Linked DNA regions of Homo sapiens: region 2 is linked to region 1. Evidence: promoter capture Hi-C in 16 types of primary human blood cells and fetal thymus (Javierre and others, 2016). All regions are on one chromosome and are shown on one strand. The core of a region is centred on a gene start or on the middle of the fragment in contact, and the rest is flanking DNA. Distances in the headings are between cores, read along the strand shown.

Region 1 (5,042 bases), core at 1,491-3,990:
GACCAACATGGTGAAACCCTGTCTCTACTAAAAATACAAAAATTATCCGAGCACAGTGGCTAGTGCCTGTAATCCCAGCTACTCAGGTGAGGTAGAATCGCTTGAACTTGGGAGGCGGAGGTTGCAGTGAGCCGAGATTGCATCCAGCCTGGACAACAAAGCGACAGACTGTCTCAAAAAACAACAACAACAACAGCAACAAAGCTGGGCATGGTGGCATGTGCCTGTAATCTCAGCACTTTTGGAGGCTGAGGTGGGAGGATCACTTGAGGCCAGGAGTTCGATACCAGTCTGGGCAACATAGGTAGATCCTGTCTCTACGAAACATTTTAAAAAATTAAAAACTGACTGCTATAACTTTTTGGTAGATTAGCCCTTTTATCATTATGTAATTTTCCTGTCTCAATTTTCTTTGTCTACAAAGTCCACATTATCTGATATTAATACAGTAGACCACTTCAGTGCCTTTGACATTGAACTCATGGGTTCTGGGTGACCAGGGTCATTGTCCAATATCAAAAGAACATTCAAGGGCAGTCCCTTACTGGCAAGGTACTTCGTGATTTCACGGACAAAAGCATTAGTGGAACCAGTCCAGAAAAAGTTTCTCATTGTCCAGGCCTTTTGGTTGTGTGCCCAAGAACAGAAAGTTCATCCTTAACCTTTTCCCTCCAAGGCTTGGAGGTTAGCAGCATTGTACATAACAGCAGTTCTGATCATAAACCCGACTACATTTGCACAAAACAGTAGAGAGACTCCATTCCTTCCTACCTTTATTTTTTGTAAAGACAGCATCTCGCCATGTTGCCCAGGCTGTCCTGGAACTTGCGGTCTTGAGTGATCCCCTGACTTCGGCCTCCCAGGGTGCTGGGATTACAGGCATGAGCCACTGTACCCAGCCTGGCCTTTACCTTTCTTACAGCTCTCTGGGATTTGGCATTATTTCAGGTTTGCCAAGAAAATAACATCCGTTTCCAAGATTTAAAATGTTGCTGGTGTGTCCTTACTTGTTTTTCCTGACCTTGTGAATTAACAAGTTTTCAAACAATCTGTTACATTTGCTTTTAGTGGTACAGAGGAGGCAAAATACATTTTTCTTGCGCGTCCTATGTTGGTGGCTGAGACCCCTAAGACAAAAGACAAATTAACAAGAGCAAAACATACAAGTTTCTTTAATACAAGTTTTACATGACACAGCAGCCTACATAAGGAAATGAAGTCCCAAAGAAACAGTTAAAGTTGTGTATTTTTATGCTAAATTTGATGAAGTCACAGAGAAATATAAATGGACAAAGAGGATATGATCTAATAGTAATACACTGGGGGCAACTTAGCAAGGCCTGTTTGTTCAAGAGTTTTCTCTGTGACTGTGTGTCTTCAGCAATAAAGATGTTACTTTCCTCCAGGTATAGGGAGTGCAAATCTCACATGAGAATCTTACGACCTGCTTCAGGGGACGTTAGGAAATTCTTCCTAGGTTTTACAACCTGCTTCGTGGGAGATGTGTGGAAAAGTCCTTCCTGTTTCTGCTGTTTTCTCAAATGATGAGGTGCCATATTTTGGCAGTGAGTGTGTGTGTCCTGAACTATATCAGTACGTGTTAGGAGGGAACAAAATTAGATGTGTTGTACCCAATCTGCCTTCTTTTCTTCTTTACTGTATGCTTTGAAGGCTGCAAAATTTCCTCTAAATATTCCCTTTACCTAAATCTTTTCTAAAAAGTTTCTAGTCTTTTAAAAAATGTTTAGCTTAATTACATTGTCAAAGAATATGGTCTTGTGTGATACCAATTGCTTGAAATGTGTTGAGGCTACTTTACAGACTAGTATGAGATCATTTCTTAAGTAAATATATGCTTTTCCATGTGTTTTCTTCAGTTTTGGGGTGGAGTAGTCTACATGTCTATTCATTAACATAAAACTAATTTTGCTTTTCAAATATTTCATATCTATAGTGACCTTTTTGTCAGCTTTTCTATTAGTTACTGAGAAGGTAGGTTAAAAACTCTGAGGCCAGGGTGGTGGCTGACGCCTATAATCCCAGCATTTTGGGAGGCCAAGGCAGGAGCGTTGCTTGAGCCCAGAAGTTTGAGACCAGCTTGGGCAACAGAGTAAGATCCCATCTGTACAAAAAAGAAAGAAAACAAAATTAAAAATGGGTTCTGCCCATGTTTGCTTTATGTATTTTGTATCTTATGTTATTAAATACATAAAAGTTTAAAATATTTTATTTGCTGGTAAATTAATGCCTTTTTTTTTTTTTTAAGACACTCTCTTGCTCTTGTCACCCAGGCTGGAGTGAGGTGGCGCAATATCGGCTCACTGCAACCTCTGCCTCTCAGGTTCAAGTGATTTTCTTGTCTCAGCCTCCCGAGTAGCTGGGACTACAGGTGCCCGCCACCACGCCTGGCTAATTTTTTTTGTATTTTTAGTAGAGACAGGGTTTCACCATGTTAGCCAGGCTGGTCTTGAATTCCTGACCTCAGGTGATTCACCCACCCGCCTCCCAAAGTGCTGAGATTGCAGGCCTGGCCAGAGAGACGACTTTAGCCGGGGTAAGGGGCCGCCTGGGAACCCCGCGTCCCGCCTGGACACACCGATGACCTGCAGAGGCCACACCGTGGGCCACCTCAGCTGGCCACTGGCACAGCCTTGCCCTCTGGGGCCCCGTTCTCGCACACGCCGACGGCCTGGCCGCACTGCAGCCCCGCAGCCTTGTGGGAAATGTAGTCTGGCGCTCCGGGCTGTAAGCGCCGGTCGCGGCTGTGTCGGTCGCCGCTGCTCCCGCTCCTGCTGGGAGAGGGTGAGTGCGGGGCCGGTGGCGGGGGCGCGCGCCATCCGTGAGTCTTGTAGGCCCCCGCAGGAGGAGCTCCGGATTGCGGGGCGAGGCCCCAGCTTCCTGAGGGTTGAGGGGCGGGCCCGCAGCAGATGGGCCGGGGGTGCGGCCTCACTGCGCCTGTGGAGCGCCGGGCCTCCGGCTCCAGGTGCGCTCCCTCTTCCCCAGGAGCTGGCGGCGGGAGCACGCTGGCAGCTGAGTGTCCTTCGGCGCTGTCCTGGGCAGGCGCCGAGGTGGAATCACAGCCCCGGAGCAGCGGGGATGGGGGCTCGAACAAGGGCCACGCCGGCCACCACGGGTCAGGGAGGGGCCCAAGGTTCCAAGAGTCGCTCGGACCCGGGTTCCTCCCTGGCTTTCCCCAGCCGCGCGCAGCTTTGTCCCGGGACACGCTGCGACCGTGGAGCGAACCTAACCCGCGGACATCCCGGGGATTCTGGGCCAGAGGCTGGGTCTCCCTGTGCAGCATCTGCCCTTTGTGTAAACCGGGTCTCCGGACCCGCCCTCTGGATCTCATTCCGAGAGCGCTGGCGTGGGCTCCCCTCCCATCTCACAATAAGAATGGGGAGGCCAACCTGGTGCAGGTTTCGACCTCGGGGAATCTTTTCTTTTTTTCCTTAAGCGATTTCACTGTAGCACAACTGGAAAATTGAGATTAAAACAATCATTCAAAATCTATCTCCATCTGCATGGCAGCGTGGATATGTGTATAAGCATAGAAACACTTTGTACTTTGTTTTTAAACAGAAATATGAATATTAGCAGCTTTTTCTCCATCTATCTTTTAAAACTGAGTCATGAGATGCATTTGGTAAGGGGTTTGAAGTGCACAAATCTTAAGCCTTGTAATTTTTTACTGGCCTAAACACCCAATGAAGATAGAGAATACATCTGAAAAAAACATTGGAATATGTTGACACCATCTACTTATACCAGATTTTAAATAGAGCTACGTCATTTTAATGAGTGTGAGGGAAAGTATGGATGTGTCGTATTGAATCCTCTCCTTAGGTTTTTGTGTTAGGGTTTTCTTTTTTCTTTTTTTTTTTCAGTATTATAAACAGTATAGGCCATCTGGCTACATACATCTTTGCATTTTGTCTTATTCTATAAATCTCTTAAAGTGAAATTTCTAGGTCCAGGGTACAGTAAGGATTTTGATACCTCCTGTCTTATTCCCTCCAGAAAAGTTGCAGTTTATATAAACACTTGCAGTGTAAGAGTGCCAGATTTACCCACACCAACTGTGAATGTTAGTATTCTCTTGAACTTCTGAGAGGTGCAAAAGATAGGATTGTTTACATTTGCATTTTGAACACTAATGAATATTTTCACGCAGTTTGCATTTTGTATTTTAATTTTGTATCTGATACATAAGCATGTTTCCTGACTGTGCAGAAACGTCACAGGTTCTTATGGTCACACATGAAAACCTTTTCTTCACGTTTGGGTGTTTGACATCACTGGCAGAGAAGCTGTCTGTCCCACGAGATTACAAAAATGTTTGTAGTTTCTCTTAGTACTTTCATTTTTTGTGTACATTTTTATTTTTTTCCAAATGGTAAGCCTTTGTTACAAGTTACTTAGTAATTTTTTCTTCGTTGATATGAAATGTCACTTATTTCATATCTTGAATGAAATATATATATACACACACATACATAAATACATGTGTATTTGAACCATTTAGGTTGGTAGAATTTTAATTTGTTCCATTGATGCTTTTCCCTGTTCGGCTATAACATCCATGATTGCGGAGAGTTTATCTGTTTTATTTACAGCTGTATCCACCCCTACCCCATGCAATGGTGCCTAGTATACAGTAGGTGGTCAACAATGTATCTGGTAAATAAGTCAGTAATATTGTGTTCCAATTCTTGTAGCTTTATGAATACTGGTGGGCAAGTTGTCTCTCATCAGTATTCTTTTTTAAAAAAGTCTTAGTTGTTGTAACACACAACTTAAATATTTTTTCCATAATTAGTGAACTTCTTTTTTTTTATTGAGACGGAGTCTTGCTCTGTCACCGAGGCTAGAGTGCAGTGGTGTGATCTCGACACTGCAACCTCTACCTCCCCGGTTCAAGTGATTCTCCTGCCTCAGACTCCTGAGTGGCTGGGATTACAGGCGCCCACCACCACTCTCTAATTTTTGTATTTTTGGTAGAGACAGGATTTTGCCATTTTGGCCAGGCTGGTCTCGAACTCCTG
Region 2 (5,042 bases), core at 1,246-3,745, 180 kb before region 1:
GTGGAATTATAAGGAAGAAAGCCCAGCTGGAGTGCATGGAGGAAACAATGGGAGGTGAGAAAATAGAAACATCAAGAGCAGAAACCCTTTTCAACAGTTTCTAAAGGAGAGTAAGCAAATGTGACATGGGGAGCTTTTATTTTTTAATGGATATGATTACGACTCGGAAGTCCATTATCAATTCTGGAAAACTCATCCCAACTCTAAAGTGCCAATATTTTAGTCCTGAAATCATGTTTTTCACAGAAGCAGACGTAAGTTTTGGATTGTGGATATCCTGACTCTTCCTTATGATCTGTTTAGAACTTTCTAGAGGCCTACAAATAGGTCTCCTGAGGTGCAGTTCAACCTTTGCTTCCTCCTAGAATCAAGCCCAGTCCTCAGCTACCTGTTAAACAAGGTGAAGACCTAGGTCAGAAGTTGAGAAGCCAGAATCATCTTGCTGATGGCCACTGCCCTGACCACTTCCTGTTATCAGGTCTAGACTCTTCCACCTGGACTCTCACTACACCCAGAGAGTGTTTCTTCAACCCTATCTCCCTGGATGATTTCATTTACTCCCACACCTCTTATGTGTACGACTATCCTGAAAAATACTTTACAGAGGTCTTTCCAACTGCCGGTTAGAATTTCCACTTGTGTATCTTTCTTTTTAAATTCAGCCTGTCCAAATCTGAACCCAGAGCATTCCTTTTCAAACCTTTTTTATATGTTTTCCAGTTCAAAATGACACCATCATCTCTTCAGTTAATTTACCGTAAATTCTTAGTTTTATCTTAGAATTTCTCTTCCCTAGGCAGTCATCAAAATCTTCATTTTTTTGTTTTTTGAGAGACAGGGTCTTGCTCTGTTGCCCAGGCTGAAATGCACTGGTGCCATCATAGCTCACTGCAGCCTCAAACTCCAGGGCTCAAGCGATTCTCCCACCTCAGCCTCCTGAGCAGCAGGAACTACGGGTGCACACTGCCAAGCTTGGCTAATATTTTTATCTTGCGTAGTGACAGGGTTTCATTGTGTTGCCCAGGCTGCACATTCTCTTAAATCTCATCACTAAAATGTCTCTAATAAGCCATCGTGAATATGTCTAAGTTCAGGATCTCCTCACTGTAGAGTGACTTGCTCCTGATCTTAAGTTATTCCTTTGACCTGTTTCTTGCCTTTCCAGTATTATTTCCCACTGGATTTACCCCTCTTAATACACAGAATTGGTCATGTTATTTCAAAAAGCATTGGTCACGCCTTACTTTATTAATTTATCAAATATTTAAAAAGTACCTACTATGTATTAGGCTCTATCCTAGGCATCGGTGATCCACAGTTCCCTACGGATCCAGTAATTAAAAGGAACAGTTGATTTCTTCAGAGAGTTTATAGTCAGACATTAGAAATGAAGACATCAGTAGGTAATCACAATACAATGTGACAATTTCTACAATAGAAACATAAGCTAGAAATGGACGTGAACACGAGCTTAGAATCATATCCAACTGTCCTTAGATAGTGAGGGTGCAGGTAGAAAAGGGGTGCAGCAGGACGCTGCTGGAGTGTTTCGTAAGAATTGACATATAAGATAGGATGTGAAAGGAATCGCCATAGGCTAGATGAAGGGGTAGCACAAGGGCTGAAGGCAGCACCCAAGTCTTTGAATGCAAGTCAGTTTTCCAGACTTATTTGCTGAAGTATCCACCCCCACCTTATCCTATAGCTAGTCAGAGTAAAAGCTCCACCTATAAAAATGTCACTTGCGGCCGGGCGCGGTGGCTCACGCCTGTAATCCCAGCACTTTGGGAGGCCGAGGCGGGCGGATCACGAGGTCAGGAGATCGAGACCATCCCGGCTAAAACGGTGAAACCCCGTCTCTACTAAAAATACAAAAAATTAGCCGGGCGTAGTGGCGGGCGCCTGTAGTCCCAGCTACTTGGGAGGCTGAGGCAGGAGAATGGCGTGAACCCGGGAGGCGGAGCTTGCAGTGAGCCGAGATCCCGCCACCGCACTCCAGCCTGGGCGACAGAGCGAGACTCCGTCTCAAAAAAAAAAAAAAATGTCACTTGCATTTGCAGTCTCACAAGGTTTTCTAGAGTCAGAGAACTCAAGGAGCAATCTGCTGGGAACTGCACATAAACCATGATGGGGGTAGTACTGCCTATTTGTAAACATCCTCTATCATCTTTGTGCTGGTGGAAAAGAGAAAAGCTGTTTTAGAAATGTTGTTGTGGTAACTCTTATTTTTAAAGCTTTTAACATAGAAATTTTCAGCATATGTAAAAGTAGTGTGAATTGTACAGTGAATCTCCAGCCAGTTTCAATAACCAGCAACACTATTCTATTGACAACCTTGTTATGGGCTGAACCGCATCATTCAAAAGAGAGACGTAGAAGTCCTAACTTCCAGGACCTCAGAACGTGACCTTACTTTAAAATATGGTCTTTGCACGTTCAATCAAATTAAGATGAAGTCATTGGGGTGAGCCCTAATCCAGCGTGACTGCTGTCCCCGTAAACTGGGGAAATTTGGACACAGGCATCCAGAAGGAAAGATGATGTGAAGACACCGGGCGAACACAGTGTGAAGACGGAGGCACAGATAGGACTGATGCAGCTGCAGGCCACGGAGATCTCCAAGTTGGCCATCGCTACAAGCTAGCAAAAGGCAAGGAAGAATTCTATGCAGAGTCTCAGAGGGAGCGGGGCCCTGCGAATATCTTGATTTTGACCTTCAGAACTGTGAGACAGTAAATCTCTACTGTTTTAAGCCACGAAGCTTGTGGTACTTCAGTATGGAGCCCTAGCAAACTAACACAAACCCTTTCATCTCGTCCACTAGGTTATGCTAGAGCACATCCCAGACAGCAAAATCATTTCATCTGTAAAAACATCAAAACCGCTCTTAGCACATCCATCAAAATTAACACCACTGCTTGCAGTTACTTTTGCCCCTAGAATACCTACACTAATAAGTCAAACTGCTGCAATGTAAAGGCAATTCAAATAATTCTTTTTGTGGCTAAGCCACCAACCTGGAACACAATTAGGGTTGTTTCATTCTGCTTTCAATATGTAGGGGGTACTTTCTCATTTTTGTTTAATTTTGTCTTATAATTTTATAAACCATTTTTATAGTTCTGAAGTCAAAATTTTGAGACCTCAAAAAGTCATAGATTCTACCCCTGTTCCATCCTTTTTCTTCCTTCACCTTAGAGATAACCATTTTTATTGATCTCCTTTTTTTTCTTTTGCTTTTATCTTTCTAAAAAAAATAATTGCACTGCTTAATGACTGGGATATGTTCTGAGATACGCGTTGTTGGCGATGTTGTGCAGTCATCAGAGTGTGTTACACAAATCTAGATGGTATAGGCTACTACACACCTAGGCTATACCCCTATACAGCATGTTACTTAGCTGAATACTGTAGGCTACTGTAACACAATTGTAAGTATTTGTGCATCTCAACATATTAAAACATAGAAAAGGGACAGGAAAAATGCAGTATTATCATCTATGGGAGCATCATCATATATGTAGGCTATCATTGACTGAAACATTATGTGCTCCATGACAGTGTAAGTAAATACACACACACTTTTCTTGGTATTCCCACCCACCTTTCTTAGATAACAGTACTAACTGTGCTGTTCTGCACTTATTCTCACATTCTGGAGATCACTCCATAGTAGAAGTTACAGAGGTCCTCCTCATTCCACTTTACAGCTGTGTGGACGTACCACAGTTTATCATCCTTGGAGTGCCTTAGCTTTAGTTCTAGGCCCCCAGTTCTTCTCACTCTGCATCTTTCCACAGGCAACTTCAATCATAGACTCATCCTCTAAGCAAGATATCTCCCATACTCGACTCCCCCTTACAGACGACCTACTCAAAAGAGCAGTTCAGATGCCTCAAAGTCAACACACCTAAAACCACACTCACGATTCTTCCCTCCGACCTGGTCAACCCCTTGTCTCTGTAAATGGCACCACCTCTGAATCAAAACCTTAAGAGTTATCCTTAATAATTCTCCCTCCCTCAGCCCCCTCATCTAATCAATTACCAAGACCTGTTTATTCTGCCATCTAAATCTGCCTCACATTCGTCTACTTTTCCCCATCTACTGCTACCATTCCATCATGAGCCTTGCCTCCAATGTCACCTGCCTCTCCTGATTTTCCTTACAGTACGCTTTTACCTGTCTTCCCTATGGGTTCATTTCTCTCTGCCTGGCTTCCTGAAATGCTGGAGTTCCTCAAGATTCAGTCTTAGGCTCTTTCTTACTCTTACTGTAATGTGAACACTCTCCCTAGGCCAACTCATCCTCTCCCATTATTTCAATCACCCTATATTGATCAGGTTCTCCCAAATTTACATTTCAAGCTCAGTCTACATTTTGAGGTACTGTACTCCGAAATCAACACTACTTGTCATCGCCACTGGGATAACTAGGTCAACCAAAAACAGCTCAATTAATCTAAAACCAAATTTACATCATCTCCAAATCTGATCTCCTTCTAGTGTTCCTATCTCACTGAATGACATCACCAACCGTCACAGAACAAACCAGAAACCAAGCAAGCATCCCTGACAACCCCATCTCCCTTTTGTTTGCTTTTATTTTCTTTGTTACCCCATCTCCTCTATCTTCCATGTCTAACAGTCCTGCTGGCTGTATCTCCTGGACATCCCTGGGACTGGTTCACTTCTTTCTGTCTCCAACACCACTAACCTAGTCCAAGTCACTCGTGCATTCATTATACAACTGGACGCATACCCTGGCCAGGGACTGTTTTAGGTTCTTGGAAAACAGGAGTGAATGAAACAGGCAACCCCTCCCACAGCAGCTTACAATGCAGAGGCAGAGACAGATCATGAAGAAACAGATCTATTACACAGCGCTAAGCACGAGGAGGGAAAATAAAGCACGGTGAGGAGATGGCGTGGGGGCTGCAGGGCTGCGTGTCAGATGATCTGTGCCTGTGTGAGCCGAAGCCTGTGCAGCACAAGGAAGTGAGCGAGCCACATGGACGCATGACCGCCACGAAGAACAGTCCC

What was found. Contacts are between HindIII fragments. The CHiCAGO score rates a contact against its expected background, and 5 or more counts as called.
Region 2: a fragment that was not itself captured here is called in contact with the fragment with the promoter of ZFP2 in region 1 in 1 of 17 cell types (activated CD4 T cells); the score reaches 5.8 in activated CD4 T cells.

What each region holds. Positions count from the first base shown.
Region 1 is chr5:178,893,173-178,898,214 of GRCh38, forward strand. ZFP2 (ZFP2 zinc finger protein) reads left to right here and starts at 2,741. Exons shown (of 5, transcript NM_030613.4): 1 at 2,741-2,802. RefSeq lists an enhancer at 2,454-2,643 and silencers at 2,754-2,863, 2,934-2,983. The HindIII fragment of the contact is 12,652 bases long and covers 1-5,042 here.
Region 2 is chr5:178,717,920-178,722,961 of GRCh38, forward strand. The region is part of intron 4 of ZNF354A (zinc finger protein 354A); the gene reads right to left. Among named protein-coding and RNA genes, the nearest start is that of ZNF354A, 10 kb to the right of the region's middle. The HindIII fragment of the contact is 527 bases long and covers 2,233-2,759 here.